Linked DNA regions of Homo sapiens: region 1 is linked to region 2. The links are contacts of gene promoters, found by promoter capture Hi-C in human tissues and cell types (Jung and others, 2019). All regions are on one chromosome and are shown on one strand. Each heading gives the region's core, a stretch centred on a gene start or on the middle of the fragment in contact. The rest is flanking DNA. Distances are from core to core; before and after follow the strand shown. Region 1 overlaps TBC1D9B (TBC1 domain family member 9B). Region 2 holds the start of MAML1 (mastermind like transcriptional coactivator 1).

What was found. Contacts are between HindIII fragments. The study calls those that stand out against the background at their distance.
Region 1: a contact is called between a fragment that was not itself captured here and the fragment with the promoter of MAML1 in region 2, in 1 of the 25 tissues and cell types used here (aorta).

What each region holds. Positions count from the first base shown.
Region 1 is chr5:179,880,667-179,885,630 of GRCh38, reverse strand. The region is part of intron 7 of TBC1D9B (TBC1 domain family member 9B); the gene reads left to right. Among named protein-coding and RNA genes, the nearest start is that of MRNIP-DT, 24 kb to the right of the region's middle. The HindIII fragment of the contact is 4,139 bases long and covers 1-3,410 here.
Region 2 is chr5:179,731,323-179,736,158 of GRCh38, reverse strand. MAML1 (mastermind like transcriptional coactivator 1) reads right to left here and starts at 3,337. Exons shown (of 5, transcript NM_014757.5): 1 at 2,732-3,337. The coding sequence starts at 3,046. CANX (calnexin) reads right to left here. Exons shown (of 15, transcript NM_001746.4): 15 at 4,518-4,836. RefSeq lists silencers at 2,745-2,804, 3,045-3,244 and enhancers at 2,433-2,933, 3,695-3,794. The HindIII fragment of the contact is 20,196 bases long and covers 1-4,836 here.

The sequences.
Region 1 (4,964 bases), core at 92-2,591, 150 kb before region 2:
AAGAAAAACGTAAAATACCTCCATCTTTTTTTTTTTGGGGGGGGGACAGAGTCTTGCTCTGTCACCTAGGCTGGAGTGCAGTGGGGCAGTCTTGGCTCACTGCATCCTCTGCCTCCCAGGTTCAAGTGATTCTCCTGCCTCAGCCTCCCGAGTAGCTGGGATTACAGGCGTCCACCACCACGCCCGGCTTATTTTGTATTTTTAGTAGAGACGGGTTTTTGCCATGTTGGCCAGTCTGGTCTTGAACTCCTGACCTCAGGCGATCCACCTGCCTCAGCCTCCCAAAGTGCTGGGATTACAGGGGTGAGCCACCGTGCCTGGCCACTCCATCATTTTTTAATTGATTCCTGTTGAAATGCGAGTATTTTGGATATATTGGATTAAGTCAAATATATTGTTAAAATTAATCTCAATAATTTACTTTAGGACTTTACAATGTGGCTACTAGAAAATTTACAATTACATTTGTGGCTCTCATCATCTCTCTTGGGCAGTGCTGGACTAGAGAGTGGCAAGAATAGAAGCAAGGAGGCCGGCTGGAGCCCATCACAGAAGCAGGGGCACAAGATGATGGAGTCGAGCATCAAGGGTAGGAACAGTGTAGGTGTAAGAAGGGGTCAGATTCAGGAGACGCTATTGTGATAAAATACACATAACAACATTTACCATTAAGTACATTGACATTGCTATGCCATCACCACCATCCATCCACAGAACTTTTTCAGTTTTGCAAAACTGAAACTCTGAACCCATTAAACAGTAACTCCTCAGCCCCCACTCCCCCAGCCCCTGGCAAGCACCATTCTACCTTTTTGACTTGAATTGAACTATTCTAGGTAATGCACATAAGTGGAAGCATATAGTATTTTCCCTTTTGTGCCTGGCTTATTTCATTCAGCGTGATGTCCTCCAGGTTCATCCCTGTTGTAGCGTGCTCAAGATTTCTTTTTTAAGGCTGAATCATATGCCATTGTATGGATAAGCCACGTTTTGTTCACTGTTGAAACTTGGACTGCTTCCACCTCATGGCTATTATGAGTAACACTGCTGTGAACATGGGTGTACAGATGTCTGTTTGAATCTTTACTTTCAGTTCTTTTGGGGACATACCCTGGAGTGGAATTGCTGGATTGTATAGCAGTTCTATTTTTAATATTTCAAGGAACCTCCGTGCTATGCTCTATCCACCAACTGTGCACCACAGTTGGAGGCCAGACCACCAACTGTGGCATGACTCTGTGCAGACACAGAGCCAGTAGCTGTGCTGAGGCAATGGCGGGAAGGAAGAGGGGCTCTGATAGTCCTAAGAGCCAAGGAATCCAGAAGTCACCAGAATACCCCTCACAAGAGACTACTCAGCAAATGGAAACCTCAACAAGTGAATCTGAGAGACAGCCAGTGAAATTGGGAGCCGATTTCTCAGGCTCCAGTTTATAGAGGAGGCTTTTTTTTATTAATGGAAGCACAAAATCCTGCTTTATTTCTACCCACAGCCTTATCGCTGCCTGACGTATTATACGGCTGAGGAAAGATCAAGAATGTGAGGGAAACCCATGCCCTTAACAAAAACTTCTCTTCTGAAAGACAAGAGCTCACCCCAAGAAAAAAAGGACTGGGATTGAACAGAGCAGGAACACTTGGGGTAAAGGAGAAAAGCTTTAGATACAAGAAAGAGGTGGCCAATCCCAGAAAGTACAGGAGCAAGGACTACACAGACCGACCACAGCAGGGGAAAGGCCTCTCCAGCTGTGGAGTTCAGAAAGCTACTCTGACCCACAACTGCCCGTACGTAGAACATCCTGCTGAAAGAACAGGAAAAGATGCTGATCACACCCTGTACAAAGATATTGCGGGGAGAAAGTGAACCAGATAACCTCCCACAGATAATGAAAGCACACCAGAAAAACATTCCTCCAGGCAGATGAAAACTGTGTCCTGATGTTTCTGAGTGATCTCAAAGGAATTAGAAAAACGACAGAAACTACTAAAGAATGGTATAAATTAAAAATGTTTAAAAAGCTCAGGTTAAAAGTGACTAGTCAACAGAAAAATATGAAGAGAGTTGACAGGACTCAGGAGGAAATAAGAAAAAAAAAACCAGATATTTCTGAAATGAAAATCAGGAACACAAGAATGAAAATACATTAAGGTAAATAAGGAAGAGATAGGAGAAAAATGGAGTCAGAGGAGACTCAAACAAATAGAGAAGAAGTTGTCCAGAGAAGGGATAAAGAAGTTAGGCAAAGAAGATCAAACTTACGTATAATCGTAGTGCCATCCCACACCCTTCCCAGAAAAAAGCAGTGGAATAACAGATAATAGAAACTGTGATTCAGGAAAACTGATAAAATAAGCTTGAACTTGTATAGTGGAAGGACACATTGAATGTCTAGAAAAATCAACACAAAATAGTCGATATTGACATAAAATCTCATAAAACTGTTCAATTTTAAAGATTAAAAAATTATTCCAGGCTGGGCACAGTGGCTCACACCTGTAATCCCAGCACTTTGGGAGGCTGAAGCAGGCAGATCACTTGAGGCCAGAAGTTCAAAACCAGCCTGGCCAACATGGTGAAACTCTGTCTCTACTAAAAATACAAAACTAAGCTAGGTATAGTGGCACATGCCTGGAATCACAGCTACTTGGGAGGCTGAGGCACAAGAATCACTTGAACCCAGGAGGTGGGAGAAGGAGGTTGCAATGGGCCACGATCCTGAGAGATTCCTCCTCAAGAGAGGTATCAGACTTTGTGATACAGTAACAACATTTTAGAGTAACTTTTTGTTGGGGGTTGGGGAGGGTGTCTCCTGGAGTGCAGTGGCACAATCTCGGCTCACTGCAACCTCTGCCTCCCAGGTTCAAGCAGTCTTGTGCCTCAGGCCCGTGAGTAGCTGGGACTACGTGTATGTGCCACCATGCCTGGCTAATTTTTGTATTTTTTGTAGAGATGGGGTTGAGATTTCACCATGTTGGCCAGACTGATCTCGAACTCCTGACCTAGGGTGATCCACCTGCCTCAGCCTCCCAGAGTGCTGAGATTATACAGAGTAACATTTTTAAGATATACAATAAAAGAAGCTGTGACCCAGGGATTTTATACCCAGCCAAACTGACGTTCAGGTATAAAGACCATAGGCTGTAAAGAACATGCAGAGGAGTTCAGGGGCTCTCTCAGCTTCTGTGGAGTCTGCTGGAGAACAGACTCCAGATAACCAAGGAGTGATGGAAGCAGCTTGGGCCTAACGACTGGTGGTAGCATTGATTATATTTAGCTGTGGAATTAAGGTTAGATAGTAGGAATAGAGGTGACAGTATATAAATGTTATAATCTCTGATGATGGAGACATAGTACAATCAAAACCTGAGGTTAGGGAGGTATATGAGGCTGGGCTTGATGGCTCATGCCTGTAATCCCAACACTTTGGGAGGCCGAGGCAGGCGGGTCACCTGAAGTTGGGAGTTTGAGACCAGCCTGGCCAATATGGTGAAACCTCGTCTCTATTAAAAATACAAAAATTAGCCGGGCATGGTGGCACACACCTGTAATCCCAGCTACTTGGGAACCTGAGGCAGGAGAATTGCCTGAGCCCAGGAGGCAGAGGTTGCAGTGAGCTGAGATCACACCTCTGTACTCCTGCCTGGGTGACAGAGCAAGACTCCATCTCAAAAAAAAAAAAAAAACGGAAGGTATATGGAAAGATATGGAAAATAGAATAAGCTCACTGATTGCCTTATTAATTAAAAATATATCCTTTTGATCAGATGTTGGCAGAGAGGGAGGAAAGTGGGAAGAAAAGGCCTGCTAGCTAATTTCAATATTGCTTGTAGTAGGGAACTGACATCTTAAAAAGAGAGGACTAAGAAACTATATAATGATATTAGCATAAAATGTTACAGTATAAATATACACTTTCTAACAGGGAAAAAAACTTGAAAGGGGGAAAGGAGACAGTGAGATTAAGCATCTCTTTCAAGAAATTTTGTATAAAGGTCAACAGAGTAATGGAGGTAACTTCTGGGAGGGCTAGAATTTTAATTGAAGTTTAACATATATATCCAAAAGTAAACATACGGTGTACAACTGGATGAATCTTAGCAGAGGGAGCATAATAGGTGAACAGCACCCAGCCAAAGTGAGGGTGGGCTTTAGAGGAGTAACAGTGCAGTTCTGTGCTGGGAGAGCGACTCCTGCAGAGAAGGCAGGGGATGGGGTCCAGGTGCAGGCAGGTGGGCGGGCAGGAGGGCACCCGTGGAGGGCTCGGATTGTTCCCTGTTCTCAGTTAAACAGGAAGAAGTGTGGTTCAGTGGGATGCAAGGATGGCAAGTGGTTTTGGAGGTTTATGTGAGGTGGTTACCTCGGGGAAGAGGGGAGGACTGGACTAGGAATACATAAGATCCCAGGCAGCTCTGAGCACCCACCTGAGGCCAGTAAGCCCGAATGTAAGGTGGGACTTGAGCCAAGCTTCTGCCGAAAGCCGCCTGGTCCCTGAGCTTGGTGCCACGCTTGCCGCCTCGCCAGGAGCACACGTTGGCTGCACGCCACACACCCGGCGGTCTGGCCCCTTCCCTGGCCAGGAGCACACGTCTGCTGCACGCCACACACCCGGCGGTGTGGCTCCTTCCCTGGCACTGAGATGTGTGATCCTCCAAGGCACCTCACAGCCTGCGAGCCCGTGTGTGTCCTAGTCGGTCCCTCTGGGGGAGCTCAGGTGGGAAGCAGGATCTCCAGGCAGGCAGTCAGTCTGCGCTGGGGCCGTGCCCACTGGATTCAGGCAGCTTGTCGTCAACATTTGTTTAAGTGGACCCAAAATCCATTTCTAACATCACAGGGGCCAGAGGGGTAGACTGTGGGTGTGAACCTAGCAGAGTTCTCTCTTTTTTTTTTTCCTTTTTCCTTTTATATTAATAACAACTTTATTGAGGTAAAATTGATACGCAATACACTGTACATATTTAAGGAA
Region 2 (4,836 bases), core at 2,088-4,587:
TGAGTAAAGCACTACCAAGTTTCTATCAATAATTCAACAAACAGGCACTTAAGATGCACCTCAGATGTGTACTACCCAAGTGTGAGCCCTCCCTGCCTCCAAGAGCTGACAGTCTAGTTGAAAAGATGCGACCTAAAGTAACAAGTGACCATGTGCTAAAAATAAATAGCATAGGCCGGGCGCGGTGGCTCACGCCTGTAATCCCAGCACTTTGGGAGGCCGAGGTGGGTGGATCACGAGGTCAGGGGTTCGAGACCAGCCTGCCCAACAAGGAGAAACCCTGTCTCTACTAAAAATACCAAAATAAGCCAAGCGTGGTAGTGTGCGCCTGTAATCCCAGCTACTCAGGAAGCTGAGGCAGGAGAATCGCTTGAACCGGGGAGGCAGAGGTTGCAGTGAGCAGAAATCATGTCACTACACTCCAGCCTGGGTGACAGGGCGAGACGCTGTCTCAAAAAAAAATAAATAGGCTAGGTGCAGTGGCTCACACCTGTAATCCCAGCACTTTGGGAGGCCGAGGTGGGTGGATTATCTGAGGTCAGGAGTTCGAGACCAGCCTGGTCAACATGGTGAAACCCCATCTCTACTAAAAATACAAAAATTATTAGCTGGGCATGGTGGCCAGCACCTGTAATCCCAGCTAGTAGGGAGGCTGAGGCAGGAGAATCACTTGAACCTGGGAGGCGGAGATTGCTGTGACCCTAGATCGCGCCATTGCACTCCAGCCTGGGCAACAGGGCAAGACTCCATCTCAAAATAAATAAATAAATAAAACAAATAGCATAGATAATATGTTTCCTAAATGTTTTGACAAAGGAGATTCTTACTGCTGTGGGTTAGGCTGGTCAGGAACTAGCTTTAAGGCAGAAGAAAGAGATAAGCTGGGACTGGCAGGGTGGCAGGATTCTGAAAGGGATGGAGGAGGGTCCCACAGGCGGCCTTTAAATTTATGAAATACTGTATTTTATTTATTTATTTATTATTATCATACTTTAAGTTTTAGGGTACATGTGTACAATGTGCAGGTTAGTTACATACGTATACATGTGCCATGCTGGTGCGCTGCACCCACTAACTCGTCATCTAGCATTAGGTATATCTCCCAATGCTATCCCTTCCCCCGAAATACTGTATTTTCATGTCCACACTCATTTCTTTTTATTCTTAAAAGAATCCTGGGGGCGGCACGGTGCGGTGGCTCATGCCTATAATCTCAGCACTTTCAGAGATCAAGTTGGAAGAAAGGATCACTTGAGCCCAGGAGTTCAAGACCAGCCTAGGCAATATAGTGAGACCCCATCTCTAACAGAAAAAAAACTTTTTTTATTTAGCCAGGCATGGTGATGTGCAGCTGTGGTTGATCCCAGTTACTCAGGAGGCTGAGGCGGGAGGACTGAGGAGGCTGAGGCGGGAGGATTGAGGAGTCTTGAGCCAGGAAGGTTGAGGCTGCAGTGAGACATGACTGTGCCTCTGCACTCCAGCCTGGGCGACAGAGTGAGGGGAGGGCAGGGAAAGAACACGGGGCGATAATAAGCCCAACATGCCCCTAGTTTACAGATGAGAAAAGTGAAGATGAGAAGGCTTGACCAGTTGATACAATAAGCAATGAAATCTGAGTGGTTTTTTTTCTTCTAACCCAGCAATCGAGGCTAGTGTGGAAGAGAATGAGAAAAATAATTCAACCAGAGCAGAGGACCTGTGAGGGACATTAAAAGATAGGTTAGGTCAGACTGGTCCCAAATGCCAAACTAAAGACTTTGAACTTCATCCTTTCAAGCAAGAGAAGGATTTCCAGCATTTCGAGAATAAGGGAGAAAGAAACTAAATGCCTACAGACTGGTTAGTTAGCTAGGGACAGGCACTGCAATAGCCCAGGTGAGAGATAATAAAGGTATGAATTTAAAAATACACATAACAAATTAGATTTTAACATTGGTTTTAAACTAAAATCCCCAAGAAAACCACTGAAAAACCTTGTCTCTTTTGTAAATCTGTTTCAGGAAGAAAAACCTCTAACCAACAAATTTCAGGAACATTTACTGAGAGCCCAAAGGGAGTAATAATTGACCAACAATCTAACATCATCAGAGATTTTAAACAGGCCTGATAAATTAAAACTAGAATTGTCAACAATATTGCAGGAATCTCAAGTTCACAAAGTTCAGGCTACCTAAACAAGGAATACTTATATGCAACTCATTGAACATTTTACTAAGTTTTCCAAAAATTTCTTGATTTTCCATTCAGAGGAGTTTCAGTTGGTCAACCAAAGGCCGACTTATTTCCACATGAAAGCCCTGATCCTGCTCACAGCACAGGATCTTGTAAAGGGCAAGGACCCAATAAACATTTGCAGAATAAATGAGGCCAGGCCTACGGTGCAGGAACTCCCTCCATCACAGGCGACTCGAATGCTAGTCTATTTCGAATAAAGATCTCAACATCCCGGAATCAAGTCTGGAAGAAAAACCCTCCGGTTAGCGTTCGCCAGCCTTCCCAGGTCGGGCCTCCTGCAAGGCCCTCAAGGCGCTGTTTTCCCAAAGTAACGCCACCGTGCCACTTCCCAAAGATGACAACCTCTCAGCTCCCTGCCATGTTACCCTCTCTCCAGCCAGATCCAGGAGTCGCGGACGCCTGGGGAAGTCTCCCAGCGGCCCGATCCGCGTCAGAGGAAGCGTTTTCGGGAGAGGGGGCTGCCGCCACGACAAGCGCCTTCCCGCGCCCTACTCACCGTGGCCGGGCGGCCGTGCTCGGGGCCGTCAGCGGCGTCCAGGCGCGGGGCCGGGGCGGCGGGCGCCGGGGCCGTGGCGGCGGGCGGCTGCCTGTGCTTCCCGGCGCGCTTGGCCTTGGCCTGGATGCAGCGCTGGTGCAGGGCGAAGGTGTGTTGGCGCTCCAGCTCCAGGCGCTCGGGCGACACGGCCTCGTAGCGGGCCTCGCAGGTGCTGTGGTGGCGCCGGCACAGCTCGATGCGCCGGCGAAGGCGCTCCATGACCGCGCTGTGCCGCGGCAGCGCGAACTCCGCCATGGGGCAGGTGGGCAGCACCATGGGCCGCGGGCTGCACGGGCCGGGCCCGGGGCCGGGCCTCTCGGGGCCGGCTGGCACTGCGGGCTTCGCTCCCCGCGGCTACCCCTCTCCGCCTCACGGCCGCGCCATGCCCCCGAGGGCAGCGGAGCGGGCTCGCGCGCGGCGGCGGGTTTTCCTCCTGCCCCGCTCGGCCCGACCCCCAGCCGGCGCTTGCTGCCTACCTCAAGCCTCGGCCTCTCCCCACCGCCCCGGCCCCATTGTTTTCCGCGCTACCGCCGCGGCCGCCATCTTAAAATTGTTTTCGGGCCTCTCGGAAGAAGGCGGGGCCTCGGTAAGAGACCTTGTGCATCACGACTGATGAGCAGGGGCCCTGGCCAATCAGAGAAGGAAGAACCGGCCGCCCGAGGGCGTGGGGACGAGCACGCAAGAGGCGCGCTCGGGCGCCAGAGCGGTATTTAAAAGGAATTCTCAAGCGAAGGGCGGAGGGAAGCCCCTGGGCGGGCCTTAATCCTGGGGGCGGAGCTAAGCGTGACTGACAGGAGCCCGTCCAAGAGGCGGCTATTGGTTTCCTGCACAGCACCCGCTGAAGGCAGGCCCTTCCGGCTACCCCGAGAAAAGGGGAATCTGGCAGGCGAGTGCGGCGCAGCTGGCCAGTCCCTGTCGCCCGCCTGGCAGTACAGAGACCTTTTTTTTAAATTATTTTTTAAATTTCGACTTTGATAAACTCTAAGTAGCCACGCTATTTTAATGTCAGCCGTTTTACTTTGACCTTATTCCTTGTATCCAGCCCCATAATTGGTCAGAATCGTCTAGTGAGCTGGTAGTTTCCTCTTGCAACATTCCGAATCACTGGTAGTTTCCACCTATTTGTAAAAGCCCGAGCAAGTTTCAAAAGTGCAGTATTACTCACTACTTAAAAAAAAAGTCCAGAAGATGTGAGCAAAAGCATGCAAGAGTGCAGCTCCATTAGAGGGAACTGGAAATGCAAAGGACGACGTTTCACCACAACCACCGCCTTCCAGGCTCAAGCGATTCTCCTGCCTCAGCCTCTCCAGTAGCTGGGATTACAGGCATGCGCCACCACGCGCGGCTAATTTTGTATTTTTAGTAGAGACGGGGTGTCTCCATGTCGGTCAGGCTGGTCTCCCACTCCTGACCTCAGGTGATCCGCCCACCTCGGCCTGCCAAAGTACCGCGATTACAGGCGTGAGCCGCCGCGCCGGACCAAAAACAGTCCTTTAGGTAAAACTGAGTTACTCAACAAAACCAAACCAAGACAAATTATGCCCCATTATTAAAACTAATAGGCAAAGGGGAGTAGAGGGACTGGAGCAATCAAACAGTGTTAGTACTAAAACTAGATAGTGTGATGCCAAAGGATATCAGGAACTCTAGATATGGGCACTCTAATTGCTAAAAGGTTAAGCAGGAGGTGGCAGGAGGCTGCACATTGAGATACACCATCAGTAGTTCAAACATTCGTTACTCTAGCTTTTTACTAGGGCTCATGAGGTTTTATTTTAAAATCAAGAGAAAACAACAATCAAATATGTCTTCATACAAACGCAGCAGAAAAATACAAATCCTAATGTTTTAAATGGAGAAAGTGGGCCACCAAGGCAAAAGTGCCATAATGCAGTCCTGCTTTTTTTTTTTTAGCATTCAAACAAATTTTACACCAGAACTAAACTATTTCTTAATAGAAAAAATAGTAACTAGGAGCACTACATTCTGTGTACATACTTTTCTTTAGTATGTAATCTAAAAATTTAATAGCACATAAAAAACTGGGCTAACTTTCAAAAATACCC